Regions from separate parts of the Homo sapiens genome. Here region 1 is linked to region 2. Evidence: promoter capture Hi-C in human tissues and cell types (Jung and others, 2019). All regions are on one chromosome and are shown on one strand. Each heading gives the region's core, a stretch centred on a gene start or on the middle of the fragment in contact. The rest is flanking DNA. Distances are from core to core; before and after follow the strand shown.

Region 1 (6,467 bases), core at 2,141-4,640, 41 kb after region 2:
TCAGTCTAAAATTGCACCTGCTCATGCATCTGCCTTATTCCGCTCTAATGCTTTTCTCCATAGTGTTTATCACCTTCTTAAATACTGCATGATTAAGTCATTTATTATGGTTTTTGTTAACTTTCTATCTCCCCTTGCTACAATGTGAACTACACAAGGACAACATGTTTGTGGTTTGGATGGCTGGGGGGTCCACCAGTGCATCTCAAGTGCCTATATATATATATGAAACATATATATGGAACACTTTTTATTTTAATGAGCTATTCAGTATTTCAGTAAGCTATTAAATGGTGCTTGGCATACAGTATGTAATCAGTATATATTAGTTGAAGGTATCAATTAACTAAATGAAGAAAGAAAAGACTAAAAAAGGAAGGGAAGAAAAAAGAGAAGGTGGGACAAAACAAGGGACACAAGTTAGGAGGCAAATGCATTATTTCATAAGATGGTGGTGGTTTGAGTTTGGGTAGAGGCACGATAAATGGAGAGAAGTGAATGAATTTGAAATAGGCTTGAACATAAATTTGGCATTATAATGAAAAATATGATTATTTCTAAAACCAATGTTTCATCTGTTTTATAAGCAGGAAATACCTGAAAATAAGGAATGTCAAGATTCTAGTATATGTTATTAGAAGTGAATGGCATTCATAGTCATGGAAAATAAAGTTAAATTATTAAATGCTATTTAAAGCCACAGAAGTTCTAGACATCGAATAAAAATAAGAATGATACAATAACTTAGCTAATGACAACAATAAAAGCTTTTGTAGAGTTTTCCTACAAGTTTTACAGTTTAGCTTGCCTGTAAGTTACAAATACGAGGATTTTTGTGCTTTGAACTATAAAAGCTCATACCTAAGAGTAATGAAAGGTTTAATATTGTACTTATTTAATAGTGCTTTCTTCTATTAAAAACATAGTATTCTATTCTTATTTATAATTTTATGGAAACCAATTTCACTAACATTTATAAAGTTTGATTTGAAAATAAATTATATTTCTTAATAATTATATGCACAGTTATGACCTGCATGGATTTAAGCTTTCGCATAATTTAAAAATCCATATCTTCATTTTGACTGTATATTTGAAAATACTGATGACAGAGTAATCTGATTGCACTGTAACTGGCCATTTTTGTGAAATAAAGTCCTTTTTTCTTGTCTCAGTAGTCATAACTAGTTACGTGTATATTGTGGTTTTCTTCCATATAAATGTTTCTAGATTGCGTACATTTAAAATAACTTTTCATGTCTAATTCTGATGCACATCTTTAGCAAATATGAACAGCAACCTTGCCACTGTCTCTGATTCTTAACTTCTTCCTTCTCTTATCCTTTCCTTATCTTATCTTCTTTCCTTTTCTTATCCTTTCAGAGCCTCTTCCTTTTCTGAAACTTAGATGGGAGATAGGAAGGTATGGTTGTAAAAGCATTACATCTGTCATATGATCTATCACATATCATATAAGAAAATGCATTATATTTTGGAAACTTTAATTTTATACACATATATATGAAATATGTTCATATGAAATACATTTCACTTTATTAAGCTATTCAATATCTCAATAAGCTATTCAATATTACAGGCACCTAGATAACTAAAGGTCAGTCATTACATTTATTTCAGTGTAAGAACTTAACGGGGAAAAATTTAAGTTCTGTTAATGAGTTTCTAATAAAAGTAGACCTGTTTTGAAAACAGAAGTGTCTGTTTCCTTGTTATATTTGAAATAAAAAATTATGATGAAGCATTTTCCAGTGTATGAAACTAAGATTCTTTTATCCATAAGGGACTAATGTGTAGTTGAAGATGTCCGTAATTGAACAGCAGGAAGTATTAGATAAATTCAAGAAAGCCCAGTAAATCCTAGAGGGAATTAGAAATAAAGTTCATATATTTATTGTTAACTGCAACCATTTTATATGAAAATTATAACAAGGCAAAGCTTACATTTCATTATCAATATAGTGTCCCTATCCACTGTTCTTTGATAGCAGTCAAGTATGGGAAACAATATAAGAGATGGTTATGAAGTTGATAACGTGTTTAGCACTGGTTTGTACTCATTCTGTATCCAGGAATCTCTTTTTATTCATTGTGTTAAATATTCATGAGCACTTACTCTGTGTCTGATACTATGATGTAGAGGATCGAAGAGTGTACTAGTTTCTGCTCTTAAAGTAATCCATAGGCAGAAGAGAGACATACAGGTGTATGTTCATTGAAATATGACAGCTACCATTTGAAAAATGCATGGAAATATAGATGCTTAGTGCATTTGGTAAAGAAGCGGGTGAGACTAAGGGAAGGGGAATTTTTAGGGTAGCAGTGCTTAAGTATGTTACAGGGGCTTAAAAGAACAGTTCAGTGAAGGAGAGATTGAAGTCCAGAAAATCCTGGAGAAGGTAGGAGGATGGGAAAAGAGTGGTGGCATCTGTCTCTATGAGATACAATGAGAAAGACGATGATGAAAATAGAACTTAGTTAAAAGGTGAAGAGGAGGGAACTTGCAAAATTTCCCGTTTTCTGTTTTCTTGGTGAGAACAGAATGTTCAGTCTGCTCCTGATCATAAAAGGAAGGATTTAGCAGTCACTGATCTGAAAAAGGTTGGGGAACAGAGACGGGTAAATGAATTATGGGTGTCAGGGAACATTCCTCTAAGATTATAAATCCTAAATTTGTCATTTATTCATGTAATGAATATTTACAGAGCACGTTTGCCTAGGTTAGGTGTTGAATATGCAGCAGGGAGCAAGATAGGCACATTTTGAATTCTTAAGCAGTTCATGCCTTCATGACACAGTAAACAAATATTAAAAAATTATTACTCAATTATAATTGTGAGAAAGACCGTAAAAGTTAAAGAAATGGTATTAAGATACCATATGATGCATGAGAAGGCTTGGGATTGGGTGAGGAGGCAGAGAAAGGAGAAAGTAGAGATACCCAGTTGGAGAAATGGCTGAGCAAAGGCCCTGAGACCAGGTGCTTGAGGGAGGCAAGGCTTCCCACTCAGTGTGCTCTGGTGCCACTCGTGAATTACACGTGTGTCAAATATTCATCCGCTCAGCTCTTATGTGTTATTCCAAGGCACAAAGAACATTATCACTTTCTAACTGAGCCATAATATGAAATAGTTTGAGAAGCTTTGCATTAGGGGAAGTGACCTCAGAAAGTTTTCATCTGTAGCACCAGCAAGGTGCATGGAATAAATAAAATATCTGGATGTTTTATTAATTTGGCCCTTCTTGTGTGTTTATAGTCATTGAATTAATTGGTTTATTCAGCAAATAGGTAGTTGATAAAATGACACTGCATTTAACCTGGCTAGTTTTATAAATATTACAAATTGACACAGAGACGGTCCACAATATGGAAGTTTATCTTGGGGTTTTTTATGAAAAGATTTAAAAAATTATCTTACCTTAGCAGGTATGGGGGAAAGTTTTCTCTCATTTCTTTTCCATTGAGTATTGTCAGTAAAATAGAATAAGATTGAGTGAAATTTCAAATTATTTAATGTTCAACCAAAAGAATTCTCAACTTATTCACACATATATATTAAGTAAAGAATTCAGAAAATCATTAATAAAGTTCAGACAAAAACCGTCTAACCTAATTCCCGGGAAAAAAACTGGAACTCTGCCTAGAATTATCCAGCTACACAGTCTGTATTCATTTTTTAATTGCATACCTTATCCTTTTTATCTCTGTGTATAGCACCTATTTAAAAGAAACAGAAACCTGGCCTGGTGTGGTGGCTCATGCCTCTGATCCCAGCACTTTTGGAGGCCGAGGCGAGCAGATCCCTTGAACCCAGGAGTTCAAGAGCAGCCTGGGCAACATGGTGAAACCCTGTCTCTAAATAAATATGTAAAAGAAAGAAACAGAAACCAGACATTTCTGTTTTTAGCTGTGGGTTGCTACACCTCTGTGAAATCATAGGTGTTTACCACTGTCTTAAATCACTGGTTTATGATTACTTGATATTTTCTGGATTTTTAAAACATTACTTCTTTTTTTAAGTGGTGTAGAAGTAACGTTTTAGCATACTATAAATTTCTGGTAATAATTTGTATTACAAAGGTGCATATTGTTTAAGGTCCCAAGTAAGCTTTATGTATAGAAAAGGTTCCTCTGCTCTTTCTTTTTGTCCTCAAACGTAAACTTCTGGAGACCTGGAGAGAATGAAAGGCGTCCGAGTGTGTGTCCATGGCAATCCGCTAGCTGTGTGGAGGAAGTTACAGTGGCATTAAGCCATGAAAAGGATCAATTGTTTTTGTGAAAAATCCTTGGGACGTGCCTTGAATTTAAAGAATCAAGTTCATTAAAATCATAAATCATCTATTAATCTTATTTTGTTGAAATATCCTTGGTGGTCCATGGTATTTTAAAGACCAAAATTGTAAAAAATGTAGTTAAAGTAACAACATAATGGGATTGTTGAGGACCGTGAAATAATATCCTCAATGCCTTTTCTTCTTGAGGGTTTTTACTGGATACTTGCTCTACCTATACCTCTCCTAACTACAGAACTGAACATGATGTGAGATGTGTAACTTTCATTTATTCACTCATGTGCCAGGCACCATGCTGACATTACATGTGAAAAGTTTCCAAGGTTTTCTTGTTACGTCTACAATTACTGCTAAGTTTCCCGTAAGTAATTTGGGGGACTGGAAACGAGGGCAAAATTACATGAAGGGCTTAGAAAACTGCATCAATTCTTTTTGGATGTGTCAGGGAGATGGGGGTAGTCTTTCTCCCTGCTAATCAAGACCCACTAGAGCACCGCCGTATACTGCACACATACTTCTGAATGACAGGAGCTTTGTGTGAGATGAGAAAGCTGTGTCAGGCTGATGGTATTATCATGATTCCTTGGAATGGATCACCATCCCAAATCACCAGACACTCCCTGATCAGGAGGGAACAGCACATTCTCCAGCTACTGTATTATTTGGGAGGTTCAGGTAGGAAGTGAGTGCATAGCCTCAAGGGGTCTGGTGGAGGTCCTCTTGGGAAATGCAGAACTTCTTTGCCTACTAATGCCCCTTGCTCTGAGACCGGAGAGGCTTCTGGGAATTTTATCCTCACAAGAAACATTCATTTCATTTAAATAGTATGTGAAGCAAGACATTTAAGTTAGTTAGAGGTGCATATCATTTAAAATGGCAGGAGATGACAGTTTCTGCAAGCCATTTCTGAAGTTAAAAAACAAGGTAGTTTAAAATAAATTGTATTTCAGCAGTCACTATTTTCTTAATTTACCAATGAACTTGAATGACATATTAAAGAACTTTAGGCATTATACTCTGGTTTGTGATCCGCTTGAACACAAAATGCATATTATGTGATCTTATTTCCAAGGTTAAATCAGTGTATCCTTGGCTAGATCTATAATAGCTTATCAGATAAACATCTTCTGTCAAAATAATATTTGCCATTAATGAAATTAATGGCAGAAGTATAAACTTCAGAAAGATATGATCACTTAGATGCTAAAAAATCTATTAAGGAAAACAGGTTACATTTCAATATCTTTGTCTTTGTGTTCTATGATATGTAAATTCCAAGGTGTAAATCCTTTCATAAAAACATTTTTTTCTTTTTCCTAGACTTAGAGAGAAACATTGACTTGCCCACAGAGCTAGCTCCTTTGATGTGCAATAATGCTACCTGTGGTCTGTTTTAAGATGCTCTTTTTTGGCCAGGCGCAGTGGCTCATGCCTGTAATCCCAGCACTTTGGGAGGCCGAGGCGGGCAGATCATGAAGTCAAGAGATTGAGACCATCCTGGCCAACATGGTAAAACCCCGTCTCTACTAAAAATACAAAAATTAACTGGGCGTCATGGTGTGCGCCTATAATCCCAGCTACTTGGAAATCCGAGGCAGGAGAATCACTTGAACCTGGGAGCCGGAGGTTGCAGTGAGCCGAGATCGTGCCACTGCACTCCTGACTGGCGACAGAGTGGGACTCCATCTCAAAAAAAAAAAAAAAAAAGTTCATTTTTATTTAACCGTTACCATTATCACATTAGACAGTGCAGGAGTATGTTAATTATCTCTAGGTGTCCCAGTGGCCTAGTAAGTCCAGGGCAAAATGCCAGCAGAGTCCTGGCCAAAAACACTACATTAACTTGTTCAGTCTCTTGACATCCTCACAAACAGAACAGTAAACCTGGAGAGAAAACATGTTTGTTCCAAATGAGTTAACTATTCCAAAATAAATAATATCTAACCCCTGGCCAAGAATTTGTAATTGTGTATAAAAAGTAACTAATGGGATGTATTCTCCAAGACTATTAATTATGTACTGAACAGGAATGCTTTTTAAATGTTGTTCCTCTGAGTGCAATAAACCTGTGTAATCTAGGCTACCTAATGAGCATCTTTGAGCATCTGCCACTGCAGAGTACATTCAAATTTCAGGCAAAATTTGGGAAATGCTGT
Region 2 (6,289 bases), core at 3,254-5,753:
GAGAAAAAACTGAAATCTAAGTAATATTCATCCAGAAGTAATTTTCAAAGTTTATGATTATCTTTTATAACCACTGTTTCATTGAAAATATACAAAATACAGAATAATATTATTCTACTGATACGATGAGAAAGAATTATCTTGAATCTTGTACTGTATCAAATATTCCTGAAATGGAAAAAATGATTCCTACCTTTTTGTGTTTTTTAATATAATGTTCTCACTGAATTCTTGAATATAACAGGTTTAAATTACTTTACAGTCAATCCTGACAAGATACTAAAAGGCTAAGAATGTAACATGCTGTGGTTTTCCTATCAAACATAATTATGCCTCCTTCAGATGGACTCAGGGTGCCACATCACTCTTAGCTCTGGAGCTATCAGTGAGGACCCTCCTACTTGTTTTATGCCTGATACTGGAAAAATGCAATAACAGGCCATCTGGGCCACTAGGAACAAAGATGCAAAGCTCAGGCAGGTAGGAATGAACTGCTTTTTAAGCAGAAAGTTCTAGTAGGACAAATCCAAATAAAAGATTTGTCTATGCTACAGGAAGTAAAATTAGTCTTTAATGTTTTCAGAAATTTCACATTACAAGAATACTAAGTAGATGTCATTGTGTCAATCAGATGTGAACAAAATTTTTAAGGTGTAAAACACAAGATAAATCTAGCCTCATAGTCTAAAATACATTGTTCCATGTAAAATGAGATCTATTTCTGACAAACACCTTATAATTACCAAAGCTGTATTTTACTTCAAAAGAAATAACTATGACTTTCTCAGTTTGTAAACATTTGATTCAATTCAGTGACTTCTGTTCGTATTTAACATCTGTTCAAATAGATTTTTCAATGACAATGGATAAAAATGAGCAAAAATGTATGTGAGCCTAACATAAACAATTTATTGTTATAAGAAAAACAGATATTTCACTTCCCATTTAATTTCATAGTTTATTCAGTGACTATACAATATTCTATAGTCACTGTGTTATAACATGGAAGTGTTGTAAGAAGCACTTCCACCAAATTTAAGTCAAACAGATTCTGCAAAGTTAACATCTCCTTTTCCCCATTTCCATCTACCTATATTTATGTTAGGGACACTTTGGAAATAATTTGTAGAGTAAGGAAACTTATGGAAAACTATGGACATTTTATAATCACAAGTGACCAACCCTGATATTAGAAAATTCTCAGACACAACAAAATAGATTGCCAGATTTTGCTAATAAAAATACAGAGCAACTAGTTAAACTTGGGTTTCAGATAAACATTAATTTTTTTAAATATAAGAATGTCCCAAATATTGCATGAGAGTATATAAAAATTATTTATTGTGTGTCTGAAATTCAAATTTCACTGGGCATCCTCTCTTTTATCAGGCAATACTATGCAGAGACATTTTAGTAGTGATGCTTTTCTCTCCTATTAGAATGTGAGTCCCTTTATGGCAGAGATGAAATAATTCGTTATGCATCAGTGTGTGATACATAATGAACACACACAACAGAATTGTATTAAATGAAAAACTGAATGTAAAGAACAAATTTTAAAGACCCTCAAATTTGTTCTCTTTTAGAAAACTCTTGAGTTTTGAAATTTTTGTCAAATCTTCCATTATGCAACCGCTATCTACCTCCAGAAATATTCCTTTTCCTTGTAGGTTCAACTAATATAATCTCTTCTCATCTCTTTGTTTAAACTGTTCATATGAAACAGTATATTATATTTATTGAGAGTGATAAGACTCCCAGAGCTTTGGCTTATACATGAGTTTGGATTTACAAAATGCTCCAGGATGGTATGTAGGTGAGGATAAAATGTACCTAGTTTACCAAGCTAATGTTTTAGATATAGGTTCTGTTTGTCTCTGTCTCTGCCTCTTTCTGTTCTGTCTCTGTTTTTCTACATATATTCTCTCTGAATACATGTATACATAAATTTATATATATATGTATACTCTGAATGAAGGTGTGTGGTTTTGCAAGTTCATAACTTTAACTCACAATGGCTAATGCACATTAATCAGGTACCATGTCTCAGAAATGACTATGACCCCAGTAACACTGTGAACTGTGAGATACAGTACATTTTTGATGTTTCTGCTCTGCTGATGCCTTCTCTTCTCCCATGCCTTGGCTGTTACAGTGACCTATATTCCAAGGACCTCAACCTCCTACTCCATCATCCCTCCCAGAGATCATCAGAACCACATTCACTGGTCCTCCAGTCAGTTTCCCACAGCTGTCATTCAGTCTCACAGAATTGGCCTCTATCCTGAATCCCATACAAACCTCAATAGCAACATGACTACTCCCTCCAGGTGGCTTTTGTGCCTTCCCAGGGAATGACAGTAATATTAACTATGAGAACAAAATTAGCAGAAATCACATATTCCCCTTCCCTTTTTACTAGGGAAATTTATTTCAACAGTGTTGTTGTTTGGTGATCTAATTCAAAAGATTGACAAGTGATGTGATTTTTTTGTCCAGTAAGAGAAAACTCAGGGTTATGGTGGTTGTTGGATTATTCTTGCAGGCTACTGGGGTATCCTTGATAATTGGAACCTACTGGAACACCATAATTCCCCTAAGCAAACCAAGCTTCCCCTAAATAGCAGAAGTTCTTAGGAGTTTCTTTTGTGGTCCCTCCTGTGTTGTATTTCACATATAAGCTGCTCCACTGGGAAATCAATGTTTGTCACAGTCTGACCCCACTCAATCTGCTCAAATGTAATTCACACTGTTTTTTTAATGGCATATGACATCTGCTTCTTTCCTTCCTGTCCTCACTGCCTTTGACATGGTTTTTTTCCCTGCTAGTCCTTCTTGTTTAACTACACATCTCTAGGAAAGCTTTCCTGCCTACTCCAGTCAATATTAAATAAAACTTTCTCTGAACTCTCAGTGCACAGTCAGTTTATACACCTGCATACTTCTTGTAATGCTAGCAAAAAAAAATGGCCCCCAAATTTTCTTCCTATATGGAAACTCACATGAGCAGCCATCAATCCCCATCATAATTCTTGTAAAAGTTGTAGCATTTCTATTTCTGTTCATGGAAAGAATAAGATCAAGGATCAACTTCTTAATATTGATATGTGTTTCTGAATAAACACTAAATGGTTTCAAAATCTGTTATTACATGACTATAATCTATTCCTGAAGCAACAGCAAACTGCCATTAGCTTGCACATTTAGCCAAATGTTCACAGGCTGGGATATTAGCAAGAACTCGTAGTAACACTTGAAATACATTCAGAACCCAATTTTATGTGCAGGAAGTTTTCTTTAAAATTTTTAAAGCTAGAATACTATTTTTGAGACAAGAACAGGACACAAGAGTATACACTGTACAGATACCTACTTCAAATTGTTACTAAGAATACATGGGATAATTCCACAACTTGGCTTTCTGTGCCTTAGATGGGACTCCTAAAAGGCTCTAAAGTGGGTCTCATATACGAAAAACATGTACTAATAGTTAAAGGATATCATATAAATGAAAATCTCATAAATTTTCAGTGTAGAGACTACCACCAATTACCTTCTCATTATTTCCTTTTGGCTTCAAATTAATTCAACAAATATTCAGGGAACACCTATTGATTTTTTTTAAGGCCATTTTGCTAGGATCTGGGGTTATAGTAATAAAGGTAAACTCCCTGCCATCAAGGCGCTCACAGTCTAATTCTGAACACCACCAAAGAAAAGAGCACATGAGGGTGACATTTCCAGCTCTAAGGCAGCAGAAGGTATGCATTATACATTTTTTGCATACCCTTCAATCAAGCAATAAAAAATCTTCCCGTTCGACCCTGTGGGAGGAGGCACTTGTGTGGTTCGGTCTGGCAGGACCACCGCCGTGTTGAAAGTCCCCCCAGACAGCTGTGCCCAGCACGGCAGTTTCGTTGGGGTCTAGGGAAAGGGCAGGGTCAGACTGGTCACAATCAGGGCTGGAGATTTTTTGGAGTCAACTCTCCCAAAGGCAATGGGGTCTACTGCTTTATTAGGAAAATGGAAAGAAAAAAGGGAGGGAAACAATGTACCCAGGCGCCCCCACCGCATTCTGATTGGACCCACTTAAGCATCTGCAGAAAACAATAAAATGAAAAAAACTCTTAGAGGTGAAACTCAAAGGTCAACCTCTGGCTGTGCGGGACAATGGGTGTCCGGCCTTCCCTTCCCTTCCCTTCCGAAGTGATGAAGGAGTTCCAATGTTCTGCGAACACTGGAAACCCCAGCGGATCCCTCTAACTCCAGGGCAGCGAAACCACTGGCAGCGGACAGAGGGAGGATTGTCGGTGTGTGAATTGCTACCCTGGGATCCGGACCCAGAGCGGCAGCCGCGCCCCTCCGCCCCCCGCGCGACCCCGGGTCCGAGGCACGCTCCCAGCGGAGCGGTCCTGCGCCCCCGCCCCCTCCAGGAGCCGCGGCGCGCACAGCCGGGCTGGAGCGCGCACCCGGCACTGAGGCTTCGCTGCTCTCGGAGCGCTCAGACCGCGGCCGCCGCAGCCGGCGAAAGAGGCAAAGTCCCGCACGCCGGAGGACATGCGCCTCGGCTAGCGGCCCCGGGCCCCACCACCGTGCGGCTTTCTCCAGATTATTCCTCTCTCGCTGTCTCTGACTGTCTCTCTCTGTCTCTGTCTCTGTCTCTCTCTCTCTCACACACACACACACACACACAAACACACATACGCACGCACGATCTCACTTCGATCTATACACTGGAGGATTAAAACAAACAAACAAAAAAAACATTTCCTTCGCTCCCCCTCCCTCTCCACTCTGAGAAGCAGAGGAGCCGCACGGCGAGGGGCCGCAGACCGTCTGGAAATGCGAATCCTAAAGCGTTTCCTCGCTTGCATTCAGCTCCTCTGTGTTTGCCGCCTGGGTGAGTGAGAAGAGCTCGGTGGGGTTTCAGCTCCGGGATCGGTGGGATGAGGGTGGGAGCATTTCAGCGTGTCCGCGACTTGCCGCCGCCGCCGCCATCTAGCCAGGAGGAAAAAGGGACAGCCAACTGGGCTCCCACGGAGCGGGCGGCCGCGCGGTGCAGGCAGCTGCGTGGGATTTGCGCGCCCCCTCCCCGCCCCGCGCCCTCGCCCCTTCCATCGGCCCGCGGGCATTCGTGCCCCGGGCCCCAGGAGACGGAGCTACTGGAGACGGAGGGCTACTCGGATCCCTGCCGCCACCGTTCTTCTCTCCTCTTTTGCAAAGTGTAGAAATCGCCTTTTAGATATACATAGGAAGATAAATGACCAGAAATACAGCTGTGGTGCGGGGCTGTGTACTGTACTGTCTTTTTTGCTGTTCATTTTTATGCTATAGGTATGATGGGCTTAAATGGAAAGTACACGTGTCTGGTGTGAATTGCAGACACACACACACACACACACACACACCTGAAAGGTAGTAACAGGCACAAGCACCAACCTGACTTTTCAGGGTTTTTTTTATTACTTTCAATTTAGTCATATTCAAGTCTGCGCAATTACTTACAAAAAAAAAAGTTCCATCTAAATCTCTAGGTTTGGTCAGTGCTGCCAAAGTCAGAGGAGAGCTGCAGGTTGATATACTTATTCACAGATTTCATTTTTCATCTGCACCCTCCAGGTTACATTTAAAACTGAAATTGCATTCAGCAATAGCCAGTTTAAGCATTCCCTTTACCTGCGATGCAGACTCAAGTTTTCCAGTCATTTTCGAGAAGTGCAAGATTGGACTTTTGCGTTTTATTAAAGAAATGCTTTTTTTCCTTCATGATTTTCCATCGCGATAGAATATAATGGGTTTACGCATTAACCTGAAAGTTACAAAGTGTTGTACTTCGCTTTGTGAGTACACATATTTAATTCTTTTCAGAGGCTCCCAATTTTTCAATTTTAGATGGTTCATAGTAGAGTAGATATTAAGCGTACATTTTCATCCAATAGATGGTGCTGCTCTTGGCACAGTAACCTTTACAAACAGAAACTATTTTTAAGTTCTAATAAATGAAAATTACATTGCAAATACGGTGATAATTGCCCATAGACCCCCACACACGGACATAATTTAAATTTCAAAGGCTTTATGAAAGTGCTTGGGGTGGTGTGATGCATAGTTGACACATAAGACATGCAAGGGAATCTCTGGTCTCCATTGATTCTAAAACCTTATAGTCAGTTCTGGAGAGGGGAAGACAGCTTTAAAAAGTACGTGGTCATCAAACATCTGTTGAATTCACATTTCTATTGTAGATCTATTTTAACAAAGAAGGCAGGTCCTCTTAGTAATTAAATTA

Evidence for each region. Contacts are between HindIII fragments. The study calls those that stand out against the background at their distance.
Region 1: a contact is called between a fragment that was not itself captured here and the fragment with the promoter of PTPRZ1 in region 2, in 7 of the 25 tissues and cell types used here (H1 embryonic stem cells, dorsolateral prefrontal cortex, heart left ventricle and 4 more).

The regions. Positions count from the first base shown.
Region 1 is chr7:121,910,273-121,916,739 of GRCh38, forward strand. All of the region lies in intron 1 of PTPRZ1 (protein tyrosine phosphatase receptor type Z1), which reads left to right. Among named protein-coding and RNA genes, the nearest start is that of PTPRZ1, 40 kb to the left of the region's middle. The HindIII fragment of the contact is 4,966 bases long and covers 908-5,873 here.
Region 2 is chr7:121,868,658-121,874,946 of GRCh38, forward strand. PTPRZ1 (protein tyrosine phosphatase receptor type Z1) reads left to right here and starts at 4,504. Exons shown (of 30, transcript NM_002851.3): 1 at 4,504-4,900. The coding sequence starts at 4,843. RefSeq lists an enhancer at 4,460-4,961. The HindIII fragment of the contact is 8,425 bases long and covers 165-6,289 here.